Regions from separate parts of the Homo sapiens genome. Here regions 2 and 3 are each linked to region 1. The links are contacts of gene promoters, found by promoter capture Hi-C in blood cells and fetal thymus (Javierre and others, 2016). All regions are on one chromosome and are shown on one strand. Each heading gives the region's core, a stretch centred on a gene start or on the middle of the fragment in contact. The rest is flanking DNA. Distances are from core to core; before and after follow the strand shown. Region 1 holds the start of EDAR (ectodysplasin A receptor). Region 2 overlaps SH3RF3 (SH3 domain containing ring finger 3). Region 3 has its middle 11 kb from the start of SH3RF3.

Region 1 (4,753 bases), core at 1,531-4,030:
CCATCTCCTTGTGGGGGCAAATGTGTCAGTGTTGGAGGCAGAGGACACAGGTTCTAGTCTCAGCCCCTCCAATTATGAGTGACAGGCTCCACACGAGGCCTGGGCATACTGAGTGCTAACCTAGACCAGTTCTTGGTGTTCCCATAATCATTATGAGCTGTGGGACTTCGGGCAAGACAGTGAACCTCTCTGAGCCTCAATTTCCTTATTGGGAAAATAGAGAAGACATTCATGACAACGCTTTGTAAAGTGCCATAGAAATGTACAGCAGAGGTTAAATGATTAGACATCAGCTTATGTTTCCTTGCTTTATTTTTTAGGAAAATAGTAATCTTTGGGACTTAAAAAAAATTCCTTCCTGCAATATACGAATTCAGTAAGGACAGAATCGTAGGCATTGAGATGGAGGCGGCATACTCACAGGAAAGGCTGGCTGGGGCTTTTGTCCCCTAATTGATCTAATGTGCTAAGTGGGCTTAATGTAAGTTAATTAATGATACTATTGGTGGGTGGAATACCTAGGCAGAGCCTCAAACAGCATCAAAGGAACGAGCAGGCAGGTGTCATCCAGGATAATTGAGGCATGCAGGCAGTCACTAGGCAGGCTAGGAGGAGGGTGAGGGGAAACTGAGCCCAGCTGAGGGGCTGAGCCACTTAAGCAGCAAGGCTGTCTGCCAAACACCATCCTGTTTACAGCTCCTGTATTTGAATTTCAGATTTGCTTGAGTCTTTGAAGCTGGGTTCCTGGGCATTTCCTTGAGAATAAATTCTATTCTTTGGAAACCACAAAACGCACTCACTTGGACCCAGAAAGGAGCGTCAGGTAACCCAGCTTCCATCTGTGGGCCTATGAGACCTGAGGAACTTTGACTAGAAGAGGCTCCCCATTTAACAGAGGCAAGTAGGTTTTGCGCTCCGTGAGATGGGGTAAGACCAGGTCTGTCTGCACTCCGGAGCAATGTTGGGCTGCCGCCCAATGGCAGGCACTGGGCTAGGCAAGAGGGTACCATGATGCCTGAGAAACAAAGATGAGCCCCTGACATGTCTGTGCTTCACAAATGTGTATGCCCAACAAAATGAAAGTCCAGCTCACAAAAGCAAGAAACCAGGTAGTGGCCAGGGAGTGAAAATCAAGCATTTCAGGGAAAGTGTATTTACTTTTTCCTCCCAAAGACTGGTCCTTCCAAGATTATCCTCCAACTGTGCTGTCACAAATTAATCCTCCCACAGCACAGCCTGGCCCACTTAGGGATGGGGAGGGGTACAGTGGAGACCCCCGGCCAATCGCCACCAGGATCGCCAAACTTTCCCAGCCGTGAAGGGTACACGTGGACTGTCATCGGAACGAACGCTTATTTCCAAGCCTTGACCAGAGTCACTCTCTTTTTGGTGGCCTCTGTCAAAATGTATCTTTAAAGGTTTTAAGTGGCTATGACTTACAAATCTCAGAGTATTAAGCCAGGCAAGAAACATTCTCTATTTTAGATGCCTGGATCCCTTTTTTCCTTCAGTCTATTATGGCTCTTCACTTCTTTGTTACACTTTCACTCTTGCTTAGAAAGTGTCTCAAAAATGCCACTTGAGAGCCACAGAGCAGTGGCCTGGGGACTGGGGAAGAGGACGGTGGTGCTCCTGTCTCTCCGTACGTCTCCTCACATGCGTGTACCCCTGGCTGTGTGGGATTGCCCACTGACCGGCATCTGCCCTGCTTGTTGATTTTAACTGTCCCTCTTGTTGCTGACCCAGCACAACATGGGCAGGGAAACCCAGTGGGAACCTCGCCTGCTGACCTCCCTGCCCAGCCACCCGCTTCTCCCTGAGCTGACATCTCAAAGCTTGGCTGCTGCAGGAGGCTGGGAATCAGAGCCGACTGAATCAGAGCCGACTCCTGTCTAGGAGCCCAACCCACCCCACGGTCTGTCAGAGTGTTGAGAGGAACCTCTTGGCTGGAAATGAAAACCTCAATCATCACAAATAGGTACCCACTCCCCTCCTTCTCTCCCTCTCCCCGCTCCCCCGCCACCAACACAGAGGCCAGGATATGGGGGGTCTCAGACACGACTGGAAACCCCACTTGGAAGGTCTCTTAGGTCACAGCGGGTACGCAGAGTTGGAGGCAGGTACAGAGCCCAGCTAGAGTCCCTGCCGCGCCTGCCTTCCCCAGTGAGCCGGGCACAGGGGCAAACCTGAGAAACATACTTTTCACGCTCCCTGGAGGAACCCGTTGCTTCAGTAGCCCAAATCTTAAAGCCTGTGAAGCACACACAGAATTTGTCTCCCTAACCAAATGTGCAACCAACAGCAAAACAGGGTTTCTGATGTTTTTCTAAAACAAAGGAACAATCTCAGGTCTTAGAACTGGTAGCGCAGACATACTGCAATCGGTAAAGCTTGTTCAAACGCAACCCAAAAATGACATGCATTTCAAAAATGCACCCAGCCTCTCTCCCAGCCCATGACACCTCCGTCTCGGCCACAGCTGAAGAGTTTAGAAAACCAGAGGAAAGGACCAGGGCTTACCTGGCTTCTGTTGGAGGTCAGCTTCAGTCCCAGCAGAAGATGGGTCTATGAAGAAAGTCAGGTACCATCCAGTTCTGGGTGACAGGCTTCACAGGTGGCCACCGTGGCAGCCCTCTCAGAAGCAGGTACTCTATGTCCTTAGGGGCCAGCAGGGCTGCCTGGGACCTGGCACACCTCTCTGACACTAGCCCCGCTTCCTTTCCGTTTAAAGGGCTTCCCGGGAACTCTTCCTTGACCGCTCCCTGCCCTGTCTGCAAGTTTGGAAACTCAGTCCTTGCCGAGGGGCTTTCCCTCATTGCAAACTCACCTGCACCATCTAGAGGTCTCTCCCAGCACTGGAGAGGCTGGAGCGGGCACGTTCAGCCCTGCTGCCATAGGTCCCTGGCACACCTGGCTCTCCGGCCGTCTGCCCCTTAAGAGATCTGTTGGAATGCGTAAAAATCATGGATTTTTTTTTTTGCAGGGGTGGGGGCCTTGCTTCTATCAGAGCCTTTAGGCGTGGGAGTGCTAAAAAGCTAAACTAGCATTAAAATATCATTAATCAAAGCTTGTTCGTAGAAGGACCCCCCACTGAGATGGCTACAGGCATGGGTGCCACTGCACGGATTCAGCTTCCAACATGTCTGTTCACATTCTCACCCATCCCCCGCACATCCCTCAGGGTTTGAGCCACCAGGACTGCTCTTCCTTTCCTCTCTCTGGACACCTCACACCACCAGTGTATACCCATGTAACTTCAGATAACCATACACACCCCCCGTATAACTAGGTAATTAGGAAGCCATTTGAAACATCAACATTTTGAAAGGACATACCTTTCAGTATTGGGCAATTATTTCTCAAAAAGTAAATGATTGGGGGGGGGAAAACAGCCTTAAAATAATGTCATTCTCTTGTCATTTTCTCCCTCATTCACACCTACACAGATAAATACAGGAACAGAGCAGCTCCTCCAGGCTAGATTTCTGTGTTCTCCTTTTCCATCTTGTCCCCTCTGCCTTGGAAACCTACAAGGTAACTCACACATGAGAAAGTAAGAGCTTAAGAAAGAAACAGTCTGGGCTCCGTGGCTCACACCTGTAACCCCAGCACTTTGGAGGCTGAGGCGGGCAGATCACTTGAGGTCAGGAGTTTGGGATCAGCCTGGCCAACATGGTGAAACTCCGTCCCTACTAAAAATACAAAAATTAGGCCGGGCGCGGTGGCTCACGCCTGTAATCCCAGCACTTTGGGAGGCCGAGGCGGGTGGATCATGAGGTCAGGAGATCGAGACCATCCTGGCTAACAAGGTGAAACCCCGTCTCTACTAAAAATACAAAAAATTAGCCGGGCGTGGTGGCGGGCGCCTGTAGTCCCAGCTACTCGGGAGGCTGAGGCAGGAGAATGGCGTGAACCCGGGAAGCGGAGCTTGCAGTGAGCCGAGATTGCGCCACTGCAGTCCGCAGTCCGGCCTGGGTGACAGAGCGAGACTCCGTCTCAAAAAAAAAAAAAAAAAAAAATATACAAAAATTAGCCGGTGGTGGCATGTGTGGAGGCTAAAGCAGGAGAATTGTTCGAACCCAGGAGATGGAAGTTGCAGTGAGCCGAGATTGTGCCACTGCACTCCAGCCTGGGCAACAGAGCGAGAATCTGTCTCAAAACAGAAAAGAAAAGAAAAGAAAAAAGCAGACAGAAATGTATGGGGCTGGGGCAAGGACCTAGACTGTAAAGGACTAATTCTGCCTCCACAGAGATTAAGCTGAACCAGAGTTACTTAGCTGACTTGATCCTTGTGGATGATTAATCTAGATAATATAAGCTCCCAAACAAGAATTTTAACTTGAATTTTCAGGTTTGGTTGTCTACCCTGCTCATGCCGAGTTCAGACTGAGGGTCTGTGATAAATTAAAGTCACTGAAATTATTAAATTAGGAACCTGGGAAAATGAATGGGAGGTATTCTGGGCTAATCTGTTCTACTCCATATAATTTTTACTTTCTGGTGTGCTCACAGTGTGTTTGAGGTTTGGGATTATTTTAGGTGTAACTAAAACATTTTTTCTATTGGAAATTAAGTGGTGATTTAAAATTTACCAAAAGGAATGATACTGATATTTCCCAAAGAGAGAGAAAAAAGACACAAGAAAAAATTAAAATGGCACAAAATATGGATGCTGTAATAGAAGCCAAGGGAGTTTTTTCCTCTCTTTGAAAAAAATCCAAACATCATGGCATTAAGCAAGGTTATGGATGGT
Region 2 (4,753 bases), core at 1,311-3,810, 150 kb after region 1:
TTTTGTTTTGAAAATTTTTTAAATCCTTGACTTATATTTGAGCCTATACAGAACATCTTCTGCAGTTCATGTAGACTCGGCTAGGCACTATTATAGGTAAACAAGACTGGCTTGGGCTTTCTGGATGGAGCTGACAGTAGAGGTAGTGAGTGGTTGCAAGCTGTCTGCCCAGCTCTCAGAAGGTACCCGTGGGCACTGACCGGTGTCACTCCAGAATTCTGTGAGGGTTACAAGGAAGGACATTGTCACAAATTAAAGAATTCTAGAAAGCTTAGGCAGTGCCTTTGATGATATAAAAGTCGGCATTACAGCCTAATAAGTTTATCTGTATTTTGTATCTTGAGGTACAGTGGTATATGTTCACATTGGATCCGTTTGAAAATCTCTTCTGTGTCTCTTTGACAATGTGACTGGGACTTAATAGAGAAAATAATTTAAGTTGGAGAATCATAAAATTATATTTGTTAAATATTTTATTTTATAAGCATACACGTGTATGATTCTTCCACCATTTTTTGAGTACAGAGCTGAGGACCTTTCTTTGAGTTCCAGATTGTCTTTTTAGCTGAACACAGTCACCTTTTATGATTTTCTATTTGTTTCTTTCAAATAGAGTGAAGACTAAGATTTTCAAAGGATTCTGAATAGAGCGTCATTTAGATTTTAAATAGGACCTCTCCACTAATGTTTGATGTTCTCATTTACACCTGATTTGACCATTTTGTTAGTGTTTGAGTCTTTCATACATGGTCATCTTGATTTCCCAAGGGACAATTTTTTTTTTTTTTTTTTTGCACTCAAACTTCTTTCCCTGTTACAGACTATTGAATTATGGTGCATATTTAGCATTATGAGTACAACTTGCATTAGCATAGTTGGGAATAAGGACAACAGATCCCTGATAAGCACAGGCTTCCCCAGGCAGGAGTGGCTGGCCCAGCCTTGCCAGGCTGTAGTCTCTGGTGGGTGTGGGTGACTTTGGCTGTGTTACAGAGGACGTGGAATGTTGGTTAGTCCAGCTGGTCAGCTAGTGGAGGCCAGGATAGAGGGTGTCTATGGTATCTGGAAGCTAGTTACCATGTTCTTTGGGTCTCGACAGTTGAACTGCTTATATACCCGAGATTTTCTGTTGAACATTTACTGAGTGCCTGCTGCATGCTGGGCACTTTGACATATATCACCTTATGGAAAGTTCACAATAATCCTGCCAAGTGGCTGGTATAATTATTATTTTGAGGCCCAGAGAGATTGATATTTGGGCAAGTCAGAGAGCTAGGAAGTGATTGAGTTAGGATTCTGTTCCTCCGCCCTTCTGTCCAGTTTGGCTGGATGGTTGGGATGTTGTCGTGGTTCGGTCTTGGATATAATAAGGACTCCAGAGGAAAAGGCTGGCACTTGGGGGCCTCACCAAAAACCAGACAGCTCACAAGAGACCAAACGAGTGGTTGATATGACAGCTGAGTTACAGCAAAGTCCTGTTCAGAAGGCCCCTGAGTGTGGAAACAGCAGTTTGCAGCCAGCGAGTGAATAATCTAAATTATTATTTATTGAGCACCCAGTGGGACCAGGTGTGAATGAAGCCTCTGCTGAGGGCTAAGGGTTGAGCGGTGTTTTAAGTGTGGCTCATCTGGTCCTTACTGCAACTTGGTGAGGTTGCTAGTTACACAGGTACGGAAATTAAGGCTCCAGAATTTCCTTGCTGAGCGGCACACAGTTAATGAGGGTGTTTTTTGGAAGATTAACTTTGGCCTTGGTTAGAAGAGTCCTCTTACTCTACCACAGGCTCAGCTCGTTGGTAGCACGATTCTAAACATAAGCAGTGGCCACCCCTTCCATTCACCGTGCCTCACGGCTGCAGATGCTCTTCTATGCAAGGCTGCTGTCTTGTAAACCCACAGAGTGCACAGAGCAGTGTGGCCCACAGGAAACAGCATCAAATCTGTTGTGGCTTTGGATGCAGGTGACAGGCAGCTCTATTAATATGTAAGTGACATGAACAGGACATTAGTCTGAGTGGCCTAGCTGGCTAACCCAGCAGCTCTGTGCTCTCCTCACTGATCCATACTTGGTCTGCCCTTCTGCTCTGCTCCTCTGTTGGCTTCATTCTCATCCCTACCCAGTAGGTCTCAAATAGAGGCCGTGGCTTCAGGTGTCACAGTCCCATGACAACACCCAGTAGTGGAGACAGCAGGGTTTCTTCCCCTTGTACTTAGTCTCCAAGTCGGTGAGCAAACGGTGACCCAGCCCCAACCCCATGTTTCTTGTTACACCCCTGGGGACAGTGTTGCCTCCCAGGCTGGTGTCTGAAGCCCACACACAGGACTGCCTTTTCTCCTGAGGCGGTGGCCTGCCACCTCCCCCAGGACACGTGGAAGGAGGGGAAGGGGTGGTGGGAATCCCACTGAAGGTGGTTTTAATCTTGGCTTCCACACTTCCTCACCATCTGCCCCGGGGCAAATGGGCTAGCTTTCCTGAGACTTGTTATCAGTGAATTAGGGATGCTATCTGCTTCTTAGATAAATAGGATAACGTATGTGCAGTGCCTGGCACACGTGATTGGCTGTCGTTTCAGTGCCTGTTCCTAATACGAAAATCTTCAAGTCTCTTATCACGCGTGAGGCACACCTCAGAGTGCCTGCTTTGCTGCTGGTGGATTTGTGGTATTTAGTATTCTAAGTTAAGGGTGTGTGCGTGTACGTGTGTGGATGTGGATGTGCATGGGGGGGTGTGTGTGTGTTGTGAGTCTGATATCATGCTTTGCCTCTAGATTCAGTCAGTCCATGTTGTGGAAACTGGATCGTCAAGCATTACTGGGCATCTATGCGGAGTAGTTGCTTGAGTCTGTTGGTTTCCTTTTTAAATTTGCTCCAAGTTTATCTTTATTATCAGAGGCAGTGTTCATGATTCTTACAAACTTCATTAAAAGGGAAAAAACGTCTAAGCCATAATCTGCTTTAAAAAAACAGCAGGGGAGAATAATCCTGCTCAGTTGCTGATCCAGCCTGTTGGCAGGCTATCCTGAAAACGAGCCCACCTCCGTCATCCGTAGGACACAATAGCTTGTCTACAGCTGCCTAGAATCAGGCTGCTTGCTGTGATGGAGCTGAGCAGAATTCTATCCAATTGTTTCTTCCTCCTGGCTTTTGAGAGCCTGCCTGCTTGCTGGAGCATGACAGATTCGGGGCTCAGTTTTGCAATTGTTTCTAGTGTGCATTTCCGTTTGATCTGTATTTAATCTCTATCTTTTACAGTTAACATGATCTTTTTTGAGGTGCATTAAAAAAAAACACACACATCAGCAAGCATTTGCTGGGGGAAATGCTCTTGATAGCACCACTTGAAGAGGCCAAGGTCAATTTTTATCAGATTTGCCTTGCTTGGGAGATCTTCAGATTTGATGAATGTGAAATGCATGCTTGATGGGTATCCTATTGGAATTTTAATTAACTTTAAAAGAACAGGGTGTCGAGCTGAAGGTATTGGCAACAGTGAATGGTTTACAGATCATGCAGGCACCCCATAATGTGAGCCTCCCTTTTCCCATTGAGTGAAGTTGGAATGAAAAAGTGTATAAAGTTGCAGCATGATTTGTATTCTGCTTTCTTTAGGCTCTCCTGGCCCTTGATGGCTCTGCACATCCTTGGAGGCCATTTAGAGCTGCAGCTCTCCTTTGGGAGACCTGAAGGAGGCCCAAGAAGAGTCACTGCGCTCTTGGGTAGCACGTGTTTACATTGTTAACTGATGCAAACGAAGATATGATGGTATTTGCATTTCCACTTAATGTAATGTGTGCATAAGGCTCACATGAATTTATGTGAGTTTAAATGAATTAGGATTGACCACAGGAATTCGGATCAGGAGGAGGTGTGAGAGAATTTAGAAGCATGCTTGCACCGGGGCACCTGTAAATGTGCTGCAGCCGGGCTCTCTGAGAGCAAGACCTCACCAGAGAATCAGGGAGTTCGCAGGGAGCCATCTTTACCCTGGTTCAAGGAATGGGATGCTGATGCTTTTCTCTCTCTGGCTTCACTGCACAGATATTTAAGTACCTGCTGTGTACCATACACTACAGTGGACACTGGGGGCTCCAGGGACAGCGATTGCATTGGTCTCTATTTATAATGAAATGTAATTTTTTTTCCATTTAGTTAGGTGACCAGATATGCTGCAGAGGAAAACATGTGTCTATATCTTTTTATTCTCTGTTTATCTGGCAGGAATTTCTAATGAGGAAAGTGGTATTGGTGTGATTTGGGGCTTAGTGAGTTTGCAGTGGGTTCTCACCTCTTTTTGTTTATTCTTCCATAGTCTAGATTTGCCAAATGAAGGCTTTGCACTTCTTCTTTCTGAATCTTTCTGACTTTGTGGTGGGGAAAGAAGATGATGAGGCAGGTCCATCCCACAGCTGGAGGCTTTCTGAGAGCAGCTTGGTGTTGCGGGCAGCACCTTTCAGAGAAGCTGTCTGCTGTTTGCTAGTTCTGGAGCAGATGCTCTGGAAGTGCCACATGCTCAGGAGATAAGAGAACTTGCTGCTGTGGCTAGGACGATGGAGGTCAGGAGTGTCCAGCACGTTTTCTGAAGATTCTTTTAATTTTTTGTTGGCCATCAAAGCACACCACCTTAGGTGAGAATTATTTGGATTTATCATTTAGGATCTAAGATACATTCATGGGTGACTGCATTCCATTTGTTGCTCTAGGATGAACCCAGAGATACTGGAGAGAAAGAGGAAAGATGAGGGAGGCTTAGGCAC
Region 3 (4,753 bases), core at 814-3,313, 130 kb after region 1:
ATACTGTTATGTGTGAATTTGATCCTGTCATTTTGATGTTAGCTGGTTATTTTGCTCGTTAGTTGATGCAGTTTCTTCCTAGCCTTGATGGTCTTTACAATTTGGCATGATTTTGCAGTGGCTGGTACCGGTTGTTCCTTTCCATGTTTAGTGCTTCCTTCAGGAGCTCTTTTAGGGCAGGCCTGGTGGTGACAAAATCTCTCAGCATTTGCTTGTCTGTAAAGTATTTTATTTATCCTTCATTTATGAAGCTTAGTTTGGCTGGATATGAAATTCTGGGTTGAAAATTCTTTTCTTTAAGAATGTTGAATATTGGCCCCCACTCTCTTCTGGCTTGTAGAGTTTCTGCTGAGAGATCTGCTGTTAGTCTGATGGGCTTCCCTTTGTGGGTAACCCAATCTTTCTCTCTGTTTGCCCTTAACATTTTTTCCTTCATTTCAACTTTGGTGAATCTGACAATTATGTGTCTTGGAGTTGCTCTTCTCGAGGAGTATCTTTGTGGCGTTCTCTGTATTTCCTGAATCTGAATGTTGGTCTGCCTTGCTAGATTGGGGAAGTTCTCCTGGATAATATCCTGCAGAGTGTTTTCCAACTTGGTTCCATTCTCCCTGTCACTTTCAGGTACACCAGTTAGACGTAGATTTGGTCTTTTCACATAGTTCCATATTTCTTGGAGGCTTTGTTCGTTTCTTTTTATTCTTTTTTCTCTAAACTTCCCTTCTCACTTCATTTCATTCATTTCATCTTCCATCACTGATACCCTTTCTTCCAGTTGATCACATCGGCTCCTGAGGCTTCTGCATTCTTCACGTAGTTCTAGAGCCTTGGCTTTCAGCTCCATCAGCTCCTTTAAGCACTTCTCTGTATTGGTTATTCTAGTTATACATTTGTCTAAATTTTTTTCAAAGTTTTCAACTTCTTTGCCTTTGGTTTGAATTTCCTTCTGTAGCTCAGAGTAGTTTGATCATCTGAAGCCTTCTTCTCTCAACTCGTCAAAGTCATTCTCCGTCCAGCTTTGTTCCATTGCTGGTGAGGAACTGCGTTCCTTTGGAGGAGGAGAGGTGCTCTGCTTTTCAGAGTTTCCAGTTTTTCTGCTCTGTTTTTTCCCCATCTTTGTGGTTTTATCTACTTTTGGTCTTTGATGATGGTGATGTACAGATGGGTTTTTGGTGTGGATGTCTTTTCTGTTTGTTAGTTTTCCTTTTAACAGACAGGAACCTCAGCTGCAGGTCTGTTGGAGTTTGCTAGAGGTCCACTCCAGACCCTGTTTGCCTGGGTAACAGCAGCGGTGGCTGCAGAACAGCAGCTTTTCATGAACCTCGAATGCTGCTGTCTGATTGTTCGTCTGGAAGTTTTGTCTCAGAGGAGTACCCGGCCGTGTGAGGTGTCAGTCTGCCCCTACTGGGGGGTCCCTCCCAGTTAGGCTGCTCAGGGATCAGGGGTCAGGGACCCACTTGAAGAGGCAGTCTGCCCGTTCTCAGATCTCCAGCTGCATGCTGGGAGAACCACTGCTCTCTTCAAAGCTGTCAGACAGGGACATTTAAGTCTGCAGAGGTTACTGCTGTCTTTTTGTTTGTTTGTGCCCTGCCCCCAGAGGTGGAGCCTACAGAGGCAGGCAGGCCTCCTTGAGCTGTGGTGGGCTCCACCCAGTTGGAGCTTCCTGGCTGCTTGGTTTACCTAAGCAAGCCTGGGCAATGGTGGGTGCCCCTCCCGCAGCCTCACTGCCGCCTTGCAGTTTGATCTCAGACAGCTGTGCTAGCAATCAGCGAGACTCCATGGGCGTAGGACCCTCCGAGCTAGGTGCAGGATATAATCTCCTGGTGTGCCGTTTTTTAAGCCCGTCGGAAAAGTGCAGTATTAGGGTGGGAGTGACCCAATTTTCCAGGTGCCGTTTGTCACCCCCTTCTTTGACTAGGAAAGGGAACTCCTTGACCCCTTGCGCTTCCCGAGGGAGGCAATGCCTCGCCCTGCTTCAGCTCGCGCACGGTGCGCTGCACGCACTGTCCTGCGCCCACTGTCTGGCACTCCCTAGTGAGATGAACCCGGTACCTCAGATGGAAATGCAGAAATCACCCGTCTTCTGCGTCGCTCACGTTGGGAGCTGTAGACGGGAGCTGTTCCTATTCGGCCATCTTGGCTGCTTCCACCCAGCATTTTTCAAAAAGCAAGGCTACAGTAATATTTTCGATCCTGTGTATTCTTCTAAAACCTTGCCCACACTCATCAGAAAGTGGAGTCTATTTCTCTGATCCTTTCTCTGGGTGTGCTCTTGTAACTGCCTTGAGGAACAGAATGCTGAAGAAGTGCCACTGCCTGCCCTCTGAGGCAAGATTGTGAAAATGAGACCTGGCTCACTCTCCAGGGTTGCGCCACCCTGGTGCTCAGTTAACATGGAAAGGCCACATAATGGCGTCTGGTGAAGATCAGCCAGCACTGACTGCAAGGCACAAAGGCCTTCTGCGGACCCTCATATCCAGCCTTTGGGCTGAGTGGAAGAGAGATAAGCTGTTTCTACTGAGTCCTGCCCAAATGGCAGATGCATGAGCAAAATAAACAGCACCATCATTTTCAACTACCACATTTTGGGGTAGTTCTTTACTCCACAAAAGACAACTGCAACATTTCACTCTGACATCCTGTGACAAAGCCATATAAATGCTGCTCCTGTTCTGGGTGTGTAAGAACAGGCACGACAACACAGCTATCCCAGGCCCACCAGATGATTTTCTGGCAAAGAGCAAACAAACAAAAAGAGGGCATTAGCTGCGGGGGTCTGCCTGCAGACCCTGACCCAAACGACGGATGAATGAAATGTACACTGACACACAGATACACTGTTTTGCCAGTCCTGCTGAGTGTCCGACTGCCTACACACCAAGAGAGGTTTGTCCACCGCAGCCGGCCACTCAGCTGGACTGGCAAAACAGAATATCTGCGTGTCAGTGTACGTTTTATTCATCTGTTTTTTGGGTCAGGGTCTGTGGGCAGACCCCTGCAGCTAATGCCCTCTTGTGAGGAGCAATACCTCAACTGGTGCCCTCTCTGAGGCTCACAATACCTCAATAAGTCATGATTTCAAATATTTGGAGAGTCATGTGGACAAGGGACCAGATTTCATTCCCAGTTGCTTAGAGAAGGGAAAATAGATAAAAGTTTCTGAAAGATGGACACATGCCTGGTATGTGGAAGGACTTTCTAAGTCGTGGGATCCCATAATAAACCAGACTGTCATTTGAGGGGGTGAGGCTGGCAGTTCTCCATCACTGGCAATGTCTAGGCAGAGGTGGTGACCACCTGGCTGCAGGGGTGGTGGTGTGAAACCAGGATGGTTGAATGAGGGAAGTTTTAAATTTGACTCTGCGATTCTATAACGGACTTGCCTTTGCAGCATCCACCAGGCTTTTCTTGGAAGGCATCGTCCTAGGTGCAATGAGGCTCTGACCTGGCTTTTCAAGAAATATCTGAGAGCTTGGTAGGAGCTCTGGGGAAATGCTAAGACACTTTGTCAGGCATGGAGTTCCTGGACAGAATGGCCACTGAAATGTTCAATATGCATTTTATTCTAGAAAGGTCTATGTATTTAACTACAGAGCAGAATGGACACAACTCTTGGCACATTCACAATCCATATCTCTCTCACAAGGAAGGGACCACCATCATCCTGTCCGTGAAACAGTCCCATTGCTCTTCCCCCGAGGTTGGTTATTCTACTTTAGCTCTATATCTTTCATAAAGGATTTCACATTTTTCTAAAATACACATGAGTATTATTTATAATTGACAATCTCCCCTTGGATGATTTAGGATATACTTCTGCCAAGACAAGAATTCAGATATTAAATATTATTCAATGTCAATTATGCTGTGATTATGCTGGAAGCTTTTTTTATATTCAATTTTCATTCATTCGCTCATGACTGTAATTTAAATAAGGGATTTTCTTTACTGCATTAAATGTATTATCAATGCAGTGCTATAGCTTAATAACTGTACCATGCATACAAGTTTAAGTATTTTCTAAGATCTTAAGCCAAATTAAAATAAAGTATATTATGTCTCCAAATTGGAGAAGAAAATTTATTATAATTCTTTTGAAGACTGCAAAAGAAAACAGAGACAACTGCAGGATTATTTTTAATACTGAAAAAGATTTTGAAATATTTTCGTCACAGTGCTATGGAAACTGCAGTTGGTAACAAGGAGATACCTCATCAGAGTAAAATGTACATTGCTTTAAGTTGAAAAAATTGCCATTGTTTATGAAGATTTTTATGGACCAAAAGAAATGTAATTGAATGATGTATCCCATGAATTTAAACAAATTCATATTCAAAATGTTCTTAATGTTCCAAGTAATCATTCAGGCCTTCACCTGATCAGATTAAGAGAAGTCCAGATATTTGTCTTGGGTCCTCCCTCTGAATTGTCCAAGAACTATGCAGCCTGAAGGGGCTGGCTCCAAGGCCATGCAGAGTGGGAACTTCAGGATGTGACTACCCACTGGGTTCCTCATGGCATCCCTGCTCACTGCAGGCTACCTGTAGGGTGGAGTCACCTGGCCCAACTCATTTGTAAGAGGAGGGGGAGGGCCTCCCAGTATAGGCCCAGCTGGCCTGGCTTACCCTGCCAGGGGCCTGGATTCACTCTGTTTAACAACCAGGGCTTTGGTGGATGACCAGGGACTCTTCCAGGGGTCAACCCCTCCCCTCAGGCCACCTGGACCCCAAGGGCTTCCTCACAGGTGAATATGCCA

What was found. The method cuts DNA at HindIII sites, captures the fragments that hold promoters and counts their contacts. A CHiCAGO score of 5 or more calls a contact.
Region 2: a fragment that was not itself captured here is called in contact with the fragment with the promoter of EDAR in region 1 in 3 of 17 cell types (non-activated CD4 T cells, naive CD8 T cells and total CD4 T cells); the score reaches 8.1 in non-activated CD4 T cells.
Region 3: a contact is called between a fragment that was not itself captured here and the fragment with the promoter of EDAR in region 1, in 2 of 17 cell types (naive CD8 T cells and non-activated CD4 T cells). The highest score is 5.4, in naive CD8 T cells.

What each region holds. Positions count from the first base shown.
Region 1 is chr2:108,986,440-108,991,192 of GRCh38, forward strand. It overlaps EDAR (ectodysplasin A receptor), which reads right to left and starts at 2,781. Exons shown (of 12, transcript NM_022336.4): 1 at 2,521-2,781. It also overlaps a transcript of RANBP2 not described here. RefSeq lists an enhancer at 1,254-1,755. The HindIII fragment of the contact is 677 bases long and covers 2,389-3,065 here.
Region 2 is chr2:109,132,949-109,137,701 of GRCh38, forward strand. All of the region lies in intron 1 of SH3RF3 (SH3 domain containing ring finger 3), which reads left to right. It also overlaps a transcript of RANBP2 not described here. Among named protein-coding and RNA genes, the nearest start is that of SH3RF3-AS1, 5.2 kb to the left of the region's middle. RefSeq lists an enhancer at 1,752-1,821. The HindIII fragment of the contact is 4,584 bases long and covers 269-4,753 here.
Region 3 is chr2:109,115,641-109,120,393 of GRCh38, forward strand. It overlaps a transcript of RANBP2 not described here. Among named protein-coding and RNA genes, the nearest start is that of SH3RF3, 11 kb to the right of the region's middle. The HindIII fragment of the contact is 3,629 bases long and covers 250-3,878 here.